Regions from separate parts of the Homo sapiens genome. Here regions 1 and 2 are each linked to region 3. The links are contacts of gene promoters, found by promoter capture Hi-C in blood cells and fetal thymus (Javierre and others, 2016). All regions are on one chromosome and are shown on one strand. Each heading gives the region's core, a stretch centred on a gene start or on the middle of the fragment in contact. The rest is flanking DNA. Distances are from core to core; before and after follow the strand shown.

Region 1 (4,313 bases), core at 172-2,671, 200 kb after region 3:
TAATTTTTGTATTTTTAGTAAAGATGGGGTTTCACCATGTTGACCAGGCTGGTCTTGAACTCCGGACCTAAGATGATCCACCTGCCTCGGCCTCCCAAATTGCTGAGATTACAGGCATGAGCCACCGTGCTTGGCTAACTAATAACTATTTTTATGTGTTTTTTTGGGAATAGGTGATACATACAGATGTATGTATCACCTATACCTGTATGTATGAGTTCAAAAGCTAAAAGGTTTTATACAGAGAAATGATAGGATATGAGAGGTTTTATTTAACAGGATCTCTCTGGTCTCTGTGTTGAGAACAGGTCAGAAAGTGATAAAGATGGAAGCAAGTTAGGAAGCTATTGCAATAATTTAAGGAGTGCTTGGAGCAGTAGAAGTGGAGGTAATGAGAAATGATCAAAATCTGGATATATTTTGAAGGTTGAGCCAAAAAGATTTGCTGATGGTCAGGTGTGGGGACATGGATAGTAGGAGAGGAACCAAGTAAAACTCTAAGGGTTTTGACCTGAACACCTAGAAGGATGTACACATGCCATTACCTCAGATAGGGAGAATTCAGAGCAAGTTGTTTTTGTTGTTCTTGGAGGAGAGGGTTGTTAAGGAGAGGATGGGTATCAGGAGCTCAGTTTGGAACATATTAAGTTTGAGATCTCCATTTAGACGTCCAATGGAAATGTCAAGTTTGTGATTAGATACATGAATCTGGAGTTTAGGGGAGAGGTTGGGGCTAGGGATAGAAGTTTGAGTCATCAGCTACACATGAAGTACCAGCAAAAGATGCTGAGGAATGACCAGAGAGATAGGAGGAAAACCAGGAGAGTATGGTGTTCTGGAAGCCAAGTGAAGGAAGCGTTTCAAGAAGGGAATTGGTCTGAGCATGAAGGAGCTGAGCATGAAGGTACCAGATCCCTGAGAGAAAGTATGTACTAATGGAAATAGTAAAAATGAGGGGCCTAGAAAAAAATCTCTCTCTCTCTTTCTACTATTATACTTGGATCAGCCTTGACTACACAAATGTTTTGAGGTTTTGAATTATTATCTGAAACAAAGCAGTGCTGCTTTGGGATTGAGTTTGTCTCAGCATTTCACTCCTAAGAACTGTGGGAACCTGGCCAGTCGTGGTGGCTCATGCCTGTAATCCCAGCACTTTGGGAGCCCGAGGCAGGTGGATCACCTGAGGCAGGACTTCGAGACCAGCCTGACCAACATGGTGAAACAGTATCTCTACTAATAATACAAAAATTAACGAGGTGTGGTGGTGCACACCTGTAATCCCAGCTGCTTGGGAGGCTGAGGCAGGAGTATTGCTTGAGCCTGGGAGGCAGAGGCTGGAGTGAGCCGAGATTGCACCACTGCACTCCAGCCTGGGTGACACAGTGAGTCTCTGTCTCAAAAATAATAATAATAATAACTAGGGGAACCTGACTAGTGCCTCATACATGTCATCATTTTCCCTTTACTCTGCTCCAATATTTATCACCTTGAAGAAGGGAGAATAGTGAGTACTCTAAAACTTAATAATGGGTACTTAGATTATGTCCATAAGACTTGGTAAATCTGAAAGTAAGATTCTAGAGAAACACGGAGCACTATTTATTACTGCTGTTTTTTAGCAGTATTATCCTCAAACATGCTGAGCCTTTCCTTATTTTGTGAACACTTATGAAAAATAGTAAGTTTTCCAAGATGAAGACCAGTTTTTCTTTCTCTTCAGCCTACTTGCTTCTCTAAAGCTAGCCCCTAATAGAGAAACTTGGTCTGTTAAGTGTTATTTGCTGCTTTTCTTTCCTGTCGTCCTATTCTCCAGCTGTCTCAACTCGGAACCTTGCAGGAAGACTATTAAACCTCATCAATGTGTGTTTCCTTTGACATTTAAACAAGCCTCCATTTTGTCTTTCCATATCATAATTTTTTCTCTTCCCTTCTCCCATTTCCAGCACCTTGTTTGACCTGTCTTCTCTTCAGCTCATTCATTATTGCTAAAGTTTGCAGATTATACCAAAGGAAGAAGCCTGATTTATAAACATGTGTTCCCACCCAGCTGTTTCAAGAATAGTAATGAGATTCATCTTCTAGTTGTGTGCCTGCTCTCTGTGTACAGCTGTGCTCATCTGCCCTTATAAATGAGATGCCTATCTCTAAGTCTTACCTTCTCTATAAATGGACTCTGTTCCTATTAAATTGATTATGCAGTAATCAGAGCAGGCCACCTTTTGGGGGAGACATCCATTTGAAATCACTTTGCTAATAGCTAGAGAGAATTTAGCCTAATTACTTCTTTAGGAGAGATGCCATTTCCCTTAAGATGCCAGGGCACTGCAAAGGGATAGGATTCCTATCCTTTTCCCCTCTGGATGACCCCCTGCAATCCTGTATGTGTATGTGTCTTTTATCTAAGGTGAAGGTAACAGGATATTCTAAGAAAATTGTGTGAAAACAATCAGAATCCATTAGAGATAGCTGTGTCAGGCCTTAGAGTCTGAAAGATCTGACCACTAATAGTGAACCCTTGAGTAAATGATTTATCCTTTCTGGTGTATCATTTCCTCCTTTGCAAAGTAGCCTTAACAATCCTTATATGACAGGATTTTTGGCACCCACTTATGGCCTGCCTTCCTCAAAAAGTGATTTAAGACCAGGTGCCGTGGCTCATGCCTGTAATCCCAGCTCTTTAGGAAACCAAGGCAGGAGGATCACTTGAGACCAGGAGTTGAAACCAGCCTGGGTAACATAGTGAGACTCTGTCTCTATTTTTAAACAAACAGAAAAAATTATAAAAAGTAAACAAATGGGCCGGGCCCGGTGGCGCATGCCTGTAATCCCAGCACTTTGGAAGGCCGAGGCAGGCAGATCACCTGAGGTCAGGAGTTTGAGACCAGCCTCAACATGGAGAAACCCCATATCTACTAAAAATATAAAATTAGCTGGGCGTGGTGGTACATGCCTGTAATCCCAGCTACTCGGGAGGCTGAGGCAGGAGAATTGCTTGAACCTGGGAGGCGGAGGTTGCGATGACCCAAGATCACGCCATTGCACTCCAGTCTAGGCAACAAGAGCAAAACTCCATCTCAAAAATAAAAATTAAAATTAAAAATTAAATTAAAAAATAAATAAACAAATGCCAGCTACTCAGGAGGCTGAGGCAGGAGAATCGCTTGAACCCAGGAGGCGGAGGTTGCAGTGAGTAGGGATTGCGCCACTGCACTCCACCCTGGGCAACAGAGCAAGACTTCGTCTCAAAAAAAAAAAAAAACACACACACACAAATAAAAATAAAAGTGATTGGCCTAGTGACTACTGTAATCTCAGCACTTTGGGAGACCAAGTTGGGTGGATCGCTTGGGGCCAGGAGTTCAAAACCAGCCTGGCCAACATGGTATAACCCTGTCTTTACTAAAAACACAAAAATCAGCCATGCATGGTGGCACACGCCTGTAATCCCAGCTACTTGGGAGGCTGAGGCACAAGAATTGCTTGAACCTGGGAGGCGGAGGTTGCAGTGAGCCAAGATTGCACTACTGCACTCTAGCTTGGACAACAGAGCGAGACTCTGTCCAAAATAAAAATAATTAAATAAAAATAAAAGTGATTTAAGGCTGTAAATATTCAATAAGATAATATGAAAACATCTAGCACATAATAGTTTTATTTTTCTTTTTTACTTTATTGTATTTATTTATTTTTTGAGATGAAGCCTTGCTCTGTCGCCGAGGCTGGAGTGCAGTAGCACAATCTCAGCTCACTGCAACACCTCCTTGAACACCTCCTGGGTTCAAGCAGTTCTCTTGCCACAGCCTCCTGAGTAGCTGGGACTACAGGCGCCCACCACCACGCCCAGCTAATTTTTGTATTTTTAGTAGAGATGGGGTTTCACCATCTTGGCCAGGCTGGCTGGTCTTGGACCCCTGACCTCAAGTGATCACTCGCCTTGGCATCCCAAAGTGCTGGGATTACAGGCATGAGCCACCGCACCCGGCTTAATCCTATATTTTTAAAAATCTAAGATTTGGGCCAGGCGCGGTGGCTCATGCCTGTAATCCCAGCACTTTGGGGAGGCCGAGGCGGGCGGATCATGAGATCAGGAGATCAAGACCATCCTGGCTAACATGGTAAACCCTGTCTCTACTAAAAAATACAACAAAAATTAGCCGGGTGTGGTGATGTGCGCCTCTAGTCCCAGCTACTCGGGGGGCTGAGGCAGGAGAATGGCGTGAACCCGGGAGACGGAGCTTATAGTGAGCCGAGATTCGTGCCACTGCACTTCAGCCTGGGCGACAGAGCGAGACTCTGTCTCAAAAAAACAAAAC
Region 2 (3,996 bases), core at 143-2,642, 190 kb after region 3:
TTTTCTATTTTTTGTAGAGATGGGGTCTCACCATGTTACTTAGGCTGGTGTTGAACTCCTGGGCTCAAGTGATCTGCCTACCACAGCCTCCCAAAATGCTGGGATTACAGGCATGAGCCATTGCACTCGGCGTCCTACATTTTCTGCCCCACAACTAGCAACTGTTTTTTCCTCTGATTTTTTTTTTTAATTTTTGAAATTATTTTATTATTTCAAAAGTAATGCCTGATTTTTTAGCTATGACACCAAAAGCACAAGCCAGCAAAAGAAAAATTAGATAAATTGGATTTCATCAAAACTAATAACTTTTGTTTATCAAAGGATACTACCAAGAGAATAAAGATAGAATGAGAGAAAATATTTGCAAATCGTGTATCTGATAAGTGATTAATATCTAGAATAAAGAACTCCTACAGATCAACAATGAAAAACCCAAACAACCTAATTCAAAAATGCGCGTAAGACTTGAATAGACATTTTGCCAAAGAAGATATCTAAATGACCAATAATCACATGAAAAGATGCTCAGAATCATTAATTATAAGAGAAATGAACATAAAAACCATGATGAATTACCACTTCATACCTACTAGGATGGTTGTTATCAAAAATGTGGAAAATAAAAAGTGTTCAAGAGGATGTGGAGAAATTGGAACCCTTGAGAACTGTTGGTTGGAACATAAAATGAGTACAAGCCATTGTGGAAAACAGTTTGGTGGATCCTCAAAAAGCTAAACAGAATTAACATATGATCCAGCAATTCTACTCCTAGGTATATACTTAAAAGAATGGAAAACAGATGTTCACACAAAAACTTGTATGTGAATATATGACAGTATTATTCACAATATTCAGAAGGTAGAAATAACCCAAGTGTCCATCAACAGATGAATGGATAAACAATGTGGTATAGCCATACAATGGAATATTATTCAGCAAACAAAAAGAAATGAAAGCTGGTACAGTGACTCATGCCTCTAATCCCAGCACTTTGGGAGGCTGAGATGGGAGGATCACTTGAGCCCAGGAATTCAAGACCAGCCTGGGCAACATAGCAAGACTGCATCTCTAGAAAAAAATACAAAATGGCGGCCAGGCATGGTGGCTTATGTCTGTAATCCTAGCACTTTGGGAGGCCGAGGTGGGTGGATCAGCAGAGGTCAGGAGTTCGAGACCAGCCTAGCCAACATGGCAAAACCCCATCTCTACTAAAAATACAAAAAAAATTAGCCAAGTTTGGTGGCACACACCTGTAACCCTAGCTACACGGGAGGCTGAGGAAGGAGAATCGCTTGAACCTGGGAGGTAGAGGTTGCAGTGAGCCAAGATCGTGCCACTGCACTCCAGCCTGCACAATGGAAACAAGACTCCATCTCAAAAAAAAAAAAAAAAAAAAAAAACTGGGCACGGTGGCTCACGCCTGTAATCCTAGCACTTTGGGAGGCCAAGACGGGCGGATCACTTGAGGTCAGGAGTTCGAGACCAGCCTGGCCAACATGGTGAAACCCCATCTCTACTAAAAATACAAAAAATTAGCTGGGCATGGTGGCGCATGCCTGTAGTACCAGCTACTCGGGAGGCTGAGGCAGGAGAATCGCTTGAACCTGGGAGGCAGAGGTTGCAGTGAGCCGAGATCATGCCATGGCACTTCAGCCTGGATGACAGAGGGAGACTCTGTCTCAAAAAAAAAAAAAAAAAAAAAAATCAACCTGGTATGGTAACACGTGCAGTGATAAACTCATTATCACTGTATAGGATGTTGTCAGTTAGGCTTACTTAGTACTCCCAGCTACTCAGGAGGCTGAGGCAGGTGGATTGCTTGAGCTGTGATCACACCACTGCCATCCAGCCTGGGGGACAGAGTGAGACCCTGTCTCCAAAAAAAAAAAAATGAAGTTCTGATTCTACAATGTGGATGAACCTTGAAAATACATGTTAAGTGAAATAAGCCAGTCACGAAAGGACAAATATTGTATTTTTTCCACTTAGGTATCTAGAATGGATACATTTATATAGACAGAAAGAATATTAAGGGCCGTGGGGAGCATAGGGAATGGAGAATTATTGCTTAATGGCTACAAAGTTTCTATTTCAGGTGATGAAAAAGTTTTAGATATTGTGATGGTTCAAAAGGAAAAAGTAACAATTTTTATTGTTGAACATTTAGGAGACAAAGTCAAAATTCACCAAGAGGAAAAGAATAAATTACCCAGAGATAACCAATGTTTGAATTTTTATATTATATATTTTTGTTGCTTCTTTTATTTTATATTTTTAACAAATTGAGACCCTTCTCTATATATTTCGTAATCTTCTTTGTTTAGAGAAATATATTCCTGTAACATATTTCCATAACATTAAATGACCTTCTATAACATTTTAAATAACTACAGAGTATTCCATGTTAAGGATGTATCATAATGGACTTAGTCATTATATCTTTTATATGGTTTAAAAAAAGATACTTCTTAAATTTTCTAGCTCTTCAAGAGCTGAGCTTCATTTTTTACATCATCAATAAAGTACCTCACATACCAAGGAGACACATTATGTGTTTCATAATAATAACCTTGCAGCTTTGGACTTTTCGGTTTTTGTCCAAACTCCCTTTTCTCTTTTTATCCTCTTGCTGCATTTTGCCTACTTGGACATTTTCTTTTTGCTTCTTCCACCTGTTCTGTGTGTCTTTCACTTTGCCACCAGTATGTAGCTTTATTGCTGCATCTGTTTCTTTTCTGGTAGAAATAGGTCAAACGTAAAATCAATAACCTGCTTCTCAGCCCAAAATAAACCTACAGGTGTTGATGTCTTTTGCTTTAGTCCACAGTTTTATTCTCAAGTGCAGTGCGTAAACCATTTAGTGTTTTACACCGAAAATACGAGCTCCTGAGAACCAAGAAAGTGTAATCTTATCTTGTGAGGCAGCGTAGTTAAAAATACGTATAAGGCCATGCAGTATGGTTTACACCTGTAATCTCAATACTTTGGGAGGCCAGACAGGAGGATCGCTTGAGCCCATAAGTTTGAGACCAGACTGGGCAACATAGCAAAACCTTGTCTCTACTGAAAACTTAAAAATAAAAATTAGCCAGGCATGGTGTCATACACCTGTAGTCCCAGCTATTTGGGAGGCTGAGGTGGGAGGACTTCTTGAGGCCAGAAGTTTGAGGTTGCAGTGAGTTATGATCATGCCACCGCACTCCAGCCTGGGCGACAGAGTGAGACTTAACCTCAAACAAAACAAACCATACAGGCTTTAGTTGAGAGTCATATTGATTGGGATTCAGATCCTAGCTTTTGCATCTTATTTAGCTATATAACATTGGAACAGATTGCTCTGAGTTTCCAGTTCCTCGTCTGTAAAATGGGAATGATTATACATTGGAGGTTGGTGAGAGAATTAAATATGAGATAATATATAGAAGATGTTAAAGCACAATAAGTTGTATGCATTATTGGAAATACTGTCTGACCACCACCACATACCAAAAAAAAAAAAAAAAAAAAAAATTAGGGAAAGCAACCAAATATGTAACCCGTTGTATCTGGGACTAAGCATCCTTTCTGTATCATTAGGACTTGGGAAACTTCTTCCACAATTTTAGTGGGATTATATTGGAGTCTGAATCTTACTTTAGTGGCCAGATTCAGTGTGTAGTAACAGTTAAGGTCTAGGATGCTTCTAATTGTTCATTTCATAGGTGGAAAAGGAAGATGGATACTTACTGCAAAGTATACAGCAAATTTTGTCTGGGAGCAAGACATACATAAGAGAAAGAATTTGAAATGACTCCAGCTTTGGTTGGGCAAATTCTGACAATTATTTTTAAATGTAAGCCCAATGAAGTCAAATATCTATAGTGACTGTTATCTCCAGATGAATTTTGAGAAAAAAAAAATAGAATTGTTATAAATTAAATGAAGCTTCAGAAAGATAGGACTCAATTTAGTCATATTGGTGGTTTTTTAAAAAATTCTAAATCTTTACATTGTATT
Region 3 (4,278 bases), core at 1,592-4,091:
GGGGAGGGACAGAAAATCCAATGATGAAGGAATTTTTTTTCCTAGAGATTCAAGTAGCCAAGCATACATCTGCTGCTCTGAGCTTCTGTGAATGTGTTCGGAGGGAGGTGATCCATACCACAGGCACCAGCAGCAACAAGGCATCCAGCATGTGGAGGGCTTTTCTACTTCTCTCATGCAGAGAAGAAAGAATACAGCCTCAGTGCCATCCTCTGACACAAATGAACTTGTGTAAATGTCCATTTATGTGTATGTACATAATGTGGCTTAATTCATAGGGTGACAACTGATAACCTGATCCATTTTCAGACTTCATTTGTGACAATGGAGAGTCCAGAGAGACAACCTAGTAAGTGTACCCTAGCTTGAGGTCAGAAAAATGGATGTGTATATAGTGAGTGGGACTGTGGAACAGTGGGGTGGTGGGGAGTTCCTGAGAATCCATAGAGGAATGTCACAGGAAGGGAGTGAGATAGTGGCATAAGGAGAAAAAAAAACATCAGTACAGAAGATTTAAGAGTCTAGAGCTGTACTGTCTATTATGGTAGCCACTAGCCACTTGTGGTTATGAAAATCTCAATTATATGAAATTAAGGATTCAGTTATTCAGTCACTGTTGACCATATTTCAAGTGCTCAAATAGCTACATGTGGCTAGCGACTTCTGCATTGGACAGCACAGATATAGAACATTTCCATCGCTGCAAAAAGTTCTGTTGGATAGTGCTTGTCTGGAGCAGGGGTTGGCAAACTTTCTGTAAAGGGTCAGATAGCAAATATTTTAGGCTTTACACAGGCCATGCAGTCCTTGTTTCAACTGTTCAACTCTGCTGTTGTAGTAAAAATGCATCTATAGATGATAATGTAAATGAATGAGCTTGGCTAGAGCCAATAAAACTATTTTTTTGTTTGTATTTTAAGACAGTTTCATTCTTGTTGCCCAGGCTGGAGTGCAGTGGCAAGATTTCGGCTCATTGCAACCTCCGCCTCCCGGGTTCAAGCGATTCTCCTGCCTCAGCCTCTCAAGTAGCTGGGATTACAAGCATGTACCACCACGCCCGGCTACTTTTGTATTTTTACGGGGTTTCTCCATGTTGGTCAGCCTGGTCTCGAATTCCCGACCTCACGTGATCCGCCCGCCTCAGCCTCCCAAAGTGCTGAGATTACAGGCGTGAGCCACCGCACCTGGCCTGAAATTTGAATTTCATATCATTTTCACATCATGAAATAGTATTTTGATTATTTAACTGTTTAAAAATGTAAAAATCATTCTAGCTCATGGGACATGTTAAAACAGGTGGTGAGCCTGATTTGACCTGTGAGATGCAGTTTGCCAACCCTTGGTCTAGAGGAACAGTAAATCAAAACTTAAGGTTTGTTTACTATGTGGGACATCTGATCACTTGAAAATTTTTAGTGGTTCTTCGAGGCTTGAGAACTTTCTCTGGCTGAAACTTGGAGTTCACTGCAGGAATGTTTACCTTCCTTTGTTCCCTATTTTTGCAGTCTAGTTCTCTCCAATGGCAGAGTCATGCTCCTTCAGTGGGAGATGACTACTGGAATGTTTAATCCTTAATTAAATCATGCCTAAGTCTAAAACACTAAACCCTTCTCTGTCTCCACCTGCTAAGTAGCTGAATCCTCACTTGTAACTTTGTCTAGTATACATTGGAAGTTCGCTGTCACCTGGGATCAGTTCTGCCCCTGTACTGTCTAACAACATGACTATTGGTGGACCAAAGAGAGATTATTTTTCCTAGACCAGAAAGGTTTACTTTTATCTTTAGCTATCAACCCCTCCCCCCACCTTTTTATGACCTCACTTTATCTCCAAGTCACATGCTATCTTGAGTGGCACTGTTGAAGGATGCCCCAGGATAAGGGAAAAAAGGTAAGATAAATGCAAAGCAAAATAAAATGGTCAAGGACACAGGAAGGACATAATAGGGGCTAGGATGTGGGAGGCCTTGAGAATTAAGGTAAATTTGTTTGCTATGGAATGAGATGGAAGTCTTAGGAGGTCGTCATGAATAGATGTTTCACAAGTGAAAGCTGGGTGGGAGGGCTCACTTAAACATGGACTGAATGCCTACTGTGCACTAGATAGTATGCTGGGCAATCAGAGATGAATAGCAGATAAGGAAAAATAAAAGCTACAATCCTTAGAATGGTGGGTTGGAGAAGGACAGAATAAGGTTTTTAGATAATAAAAGGCAACAAGATTTAGTGATAGAGGATGGTGAGGGGAAAAGGGATATATAGAGGGATTAGAAATGGGTGCTTTGGGGAGAAAAGCAAGTGGTAATCCTAAAAGAGAAAGCTGGAGAACAAAGGATAAAAAATTAGGAGGTTGGTACTTTGCTGAACTAAGGGGTAAAATGGATGAAACCATCAGGAGCTGTGATTGCTCTTCTGTTCTTTGTGGATGCCCATGTTCAGATCCCCTACGGCCCTTTCCTCTCTGTGGTTGAAGGACAACTACAGAAGAGGTGTCTTCTGTGTTATAAGGTGCAATACTCCCCCCAGAGACCTCTCTATGAGGAAGTCTGATCCAGCGAGAGTTCTACTGCCCACGAGGGGACAGCGTTAGGTTCGAGCTCTCTAATCCAGGTTTCTTTGAGTTTATCTTGGTTCTAACCGGCACGCCGGGTTTTCCAGCATTCCCTGAGCTAAGACTCCCTAATCTGGGCTCCGGGTGAGCGCGCATTCCGAGACCCAGGATTTCGCTCCTTCATCCAGGTTCCGGGTTTCCCCTGCGCTCACCGGCTCCAGACTCCACACAAGCGCGGAATCCGGATCCGAGGGCCTGGCAGTCCAGTGTCCGCGTCTTCCGGGTGACTCTGGTTGTCCCGGATCGCGGCGGCGGCGGCGGTGGCGGCGGCTGAGGGACCCGCGGCCCCGGACACAGCGGCACCGGCCGGGCGGGGCGGAGAGGCGCGGGGAGGGGGCAGAGAGCCAGAGCCGGAGCCGGAGCCGGAGCCGGGGTGGGGTGGGGGGGAGGGGCCGCGGGAACGGATGGCGGCCTGGGCCCCGTAGCAGCGGCGGCTCTACGGCCCGGGGCCCCGGGCGGGCGGAGGTGGCGGCTCCCGGGACCGGCCGCGCGGTGAGTCCGGAGCTTTGTGTGGAGCCGGGACTGGGGGAGGAAAGAGGCGGCGGCACCGATGGGGCGCGGGGCTGAGGGGATCTGATGGGGGCCGGGGGCGGCGGCGCTGCCTGACGGAGGAAGTGGGGGTTGGGGGGGCTGGGGCGGAGCGAGGGGAAGGTGTGTAGGGGGGGTCGTTGCGTGGGTGGGGGAGGGGGCGTCGAGGGGCGCGGGGTGAAGTTCAAAGCGTGGCCACGGCCGGTTCAGGCTGAGGGTAGGGGTGCCCGGGAGGGGATTAGGGTCTGGCTAGGTTATGGGAGCAGGCCAGAGAGTTTCTGAGGCGAGTCTGGGTATGTTGAGGGCGCTCGGGGCGACTGGGGCCAGTCAGGGAGTTGGCGGGGGAGGGGGGGCGGGGGCGGTGGTGGTTGTTCAGAGCATAGGGTCGGAAGCAGGACGTGTGCGTGACCTAGGAGTGGGGAGCAAGGTGGCTGGGATCCTGCAGTAAGTAGGTTGTGGGTGTGTGCCCCTAACAGTCTTCAGGTCACATTTACTCCTGTCCTTTTCTTCAAGATGGAGGGATCCCTGGGCCTGGACCTCAACTGCTATCCTTGTACCCCCGGGAGGGTTTGTGACCCTATCCTGTTTGGAAAACCCATGCTGCCCTCTTTTCCCTTTATGTGTAATTACGGTTGGATCATCTCTGTGCTTTGCTCAGATTCTCCTTCCTCCCTCTGGGGTTGAGGAGGAGGAGACACATCTGACCAATTAATGTGTGTTTGTGAAACAGGCAGCAGCAAACAGTCATTTCAGCTTCGAGGAATTAGGCTCACACAGGGTGGAGAGATCAGAGCCCTTCAGGGGGAATATTTCTGAACAAATCACGGATGATTAAATTCTCTAAGAAACAGCTCCCTACCTAAATGAGAGTGAGAAAGATAGGGAAGAAAGCCTGTCTGTTTCCAGCCATGTGTCCAGAGCCTAAGGGGTTGAGGAGAGTCCCCAAGCCCCTACAGGCCTCCCTTTTCTGTATTAGGCTTTGCTCTGCAGCCTTGAGTTAATTTCACCCCTGCTGCTTTGTCTTGGGGGAGGGAGTGCTGGTTTAGGCTGTTGTGAGGAGATGACTGTTCTGCTGCCACACACAATAGTCGTGTCATTTTATCGGGAGCGCTACCCCAGGGCTGAGAACTGCTGCAGCAG

The links. The method cuts DNA at HindIII sites, captures the fragments that hold promoters and counts their contacts. A CHiCAGO score of 5 or more calls a contact.
Region 1: a contact is called between a fragment that was not itself captured here and the fragment with the promoter of ZNF609 in region 3, in 5 of 17 cell types (M1 macrophages, M2 macrophages, endothelial precursors and 2 more). The highest score is 6.5, in M1 macrophages.
Region 2: a fragment that was not itself captured here is called in contact with the fragment with the promoter of ZNF609 in region 3 in 13 of 17 cell types (naive CD4 T cells, M2 macrophages, non-activated CD4 T cells and 10 more); the score reaches 12.7 in naive CD4 T cells.

The regions. Positions count from the first base shown.
Region 1 is chr15:64,662,831-64,667,143 of GRCh38, forward strand. The region is part of intron 3 of ZNF609 (zinc finger protein 609); the gene reads left to right. Among named protein-coding and RNA genes, the nearest start is that of OAZ2, 38 kb to the right of the region's middle. RefSeq lists enhancers at 3,484-4,183, 4,184-4,313. The HindIII fragment of the contact is 7,407 bases long and covers 1-4,313 here.
Region 2 is chr15:64,645,259-64,649,254 of GRCh38, forward strand. All of the region lies in intron 3 of ZNF609 (zinc finger protein 609), which reads left to right. Among named protein-coding and RNA genes, the nearest start is that of OAZ2, 56 kb to the right of the region's middle. The HindIII fragment of the contact is 5,059 bases long and covers 1-3,922 here.
Region 3 is chr15:64,457,737-64,462,014 of GRCh38, forward strand. ZNF609 (zinc finger protein 609) reads left to right here and starts at 2,842. Exons shown (of 10, transcript NM_015042.2): 1 at 2,842-3,102. LOC105370861 (a long non-coding RNA gene) reads right to left here and starts at 2,851. Exons shown (of 3, transcript XR_932367.3): 1 at 2,763-2,851. RefSeq lists an enhancer at 2,364-2,433 and silencers at 2,894-3,013, 3,074-3,173. The HindIII fragment of the contact is 12,937 bases long and covers 1-4,278 here.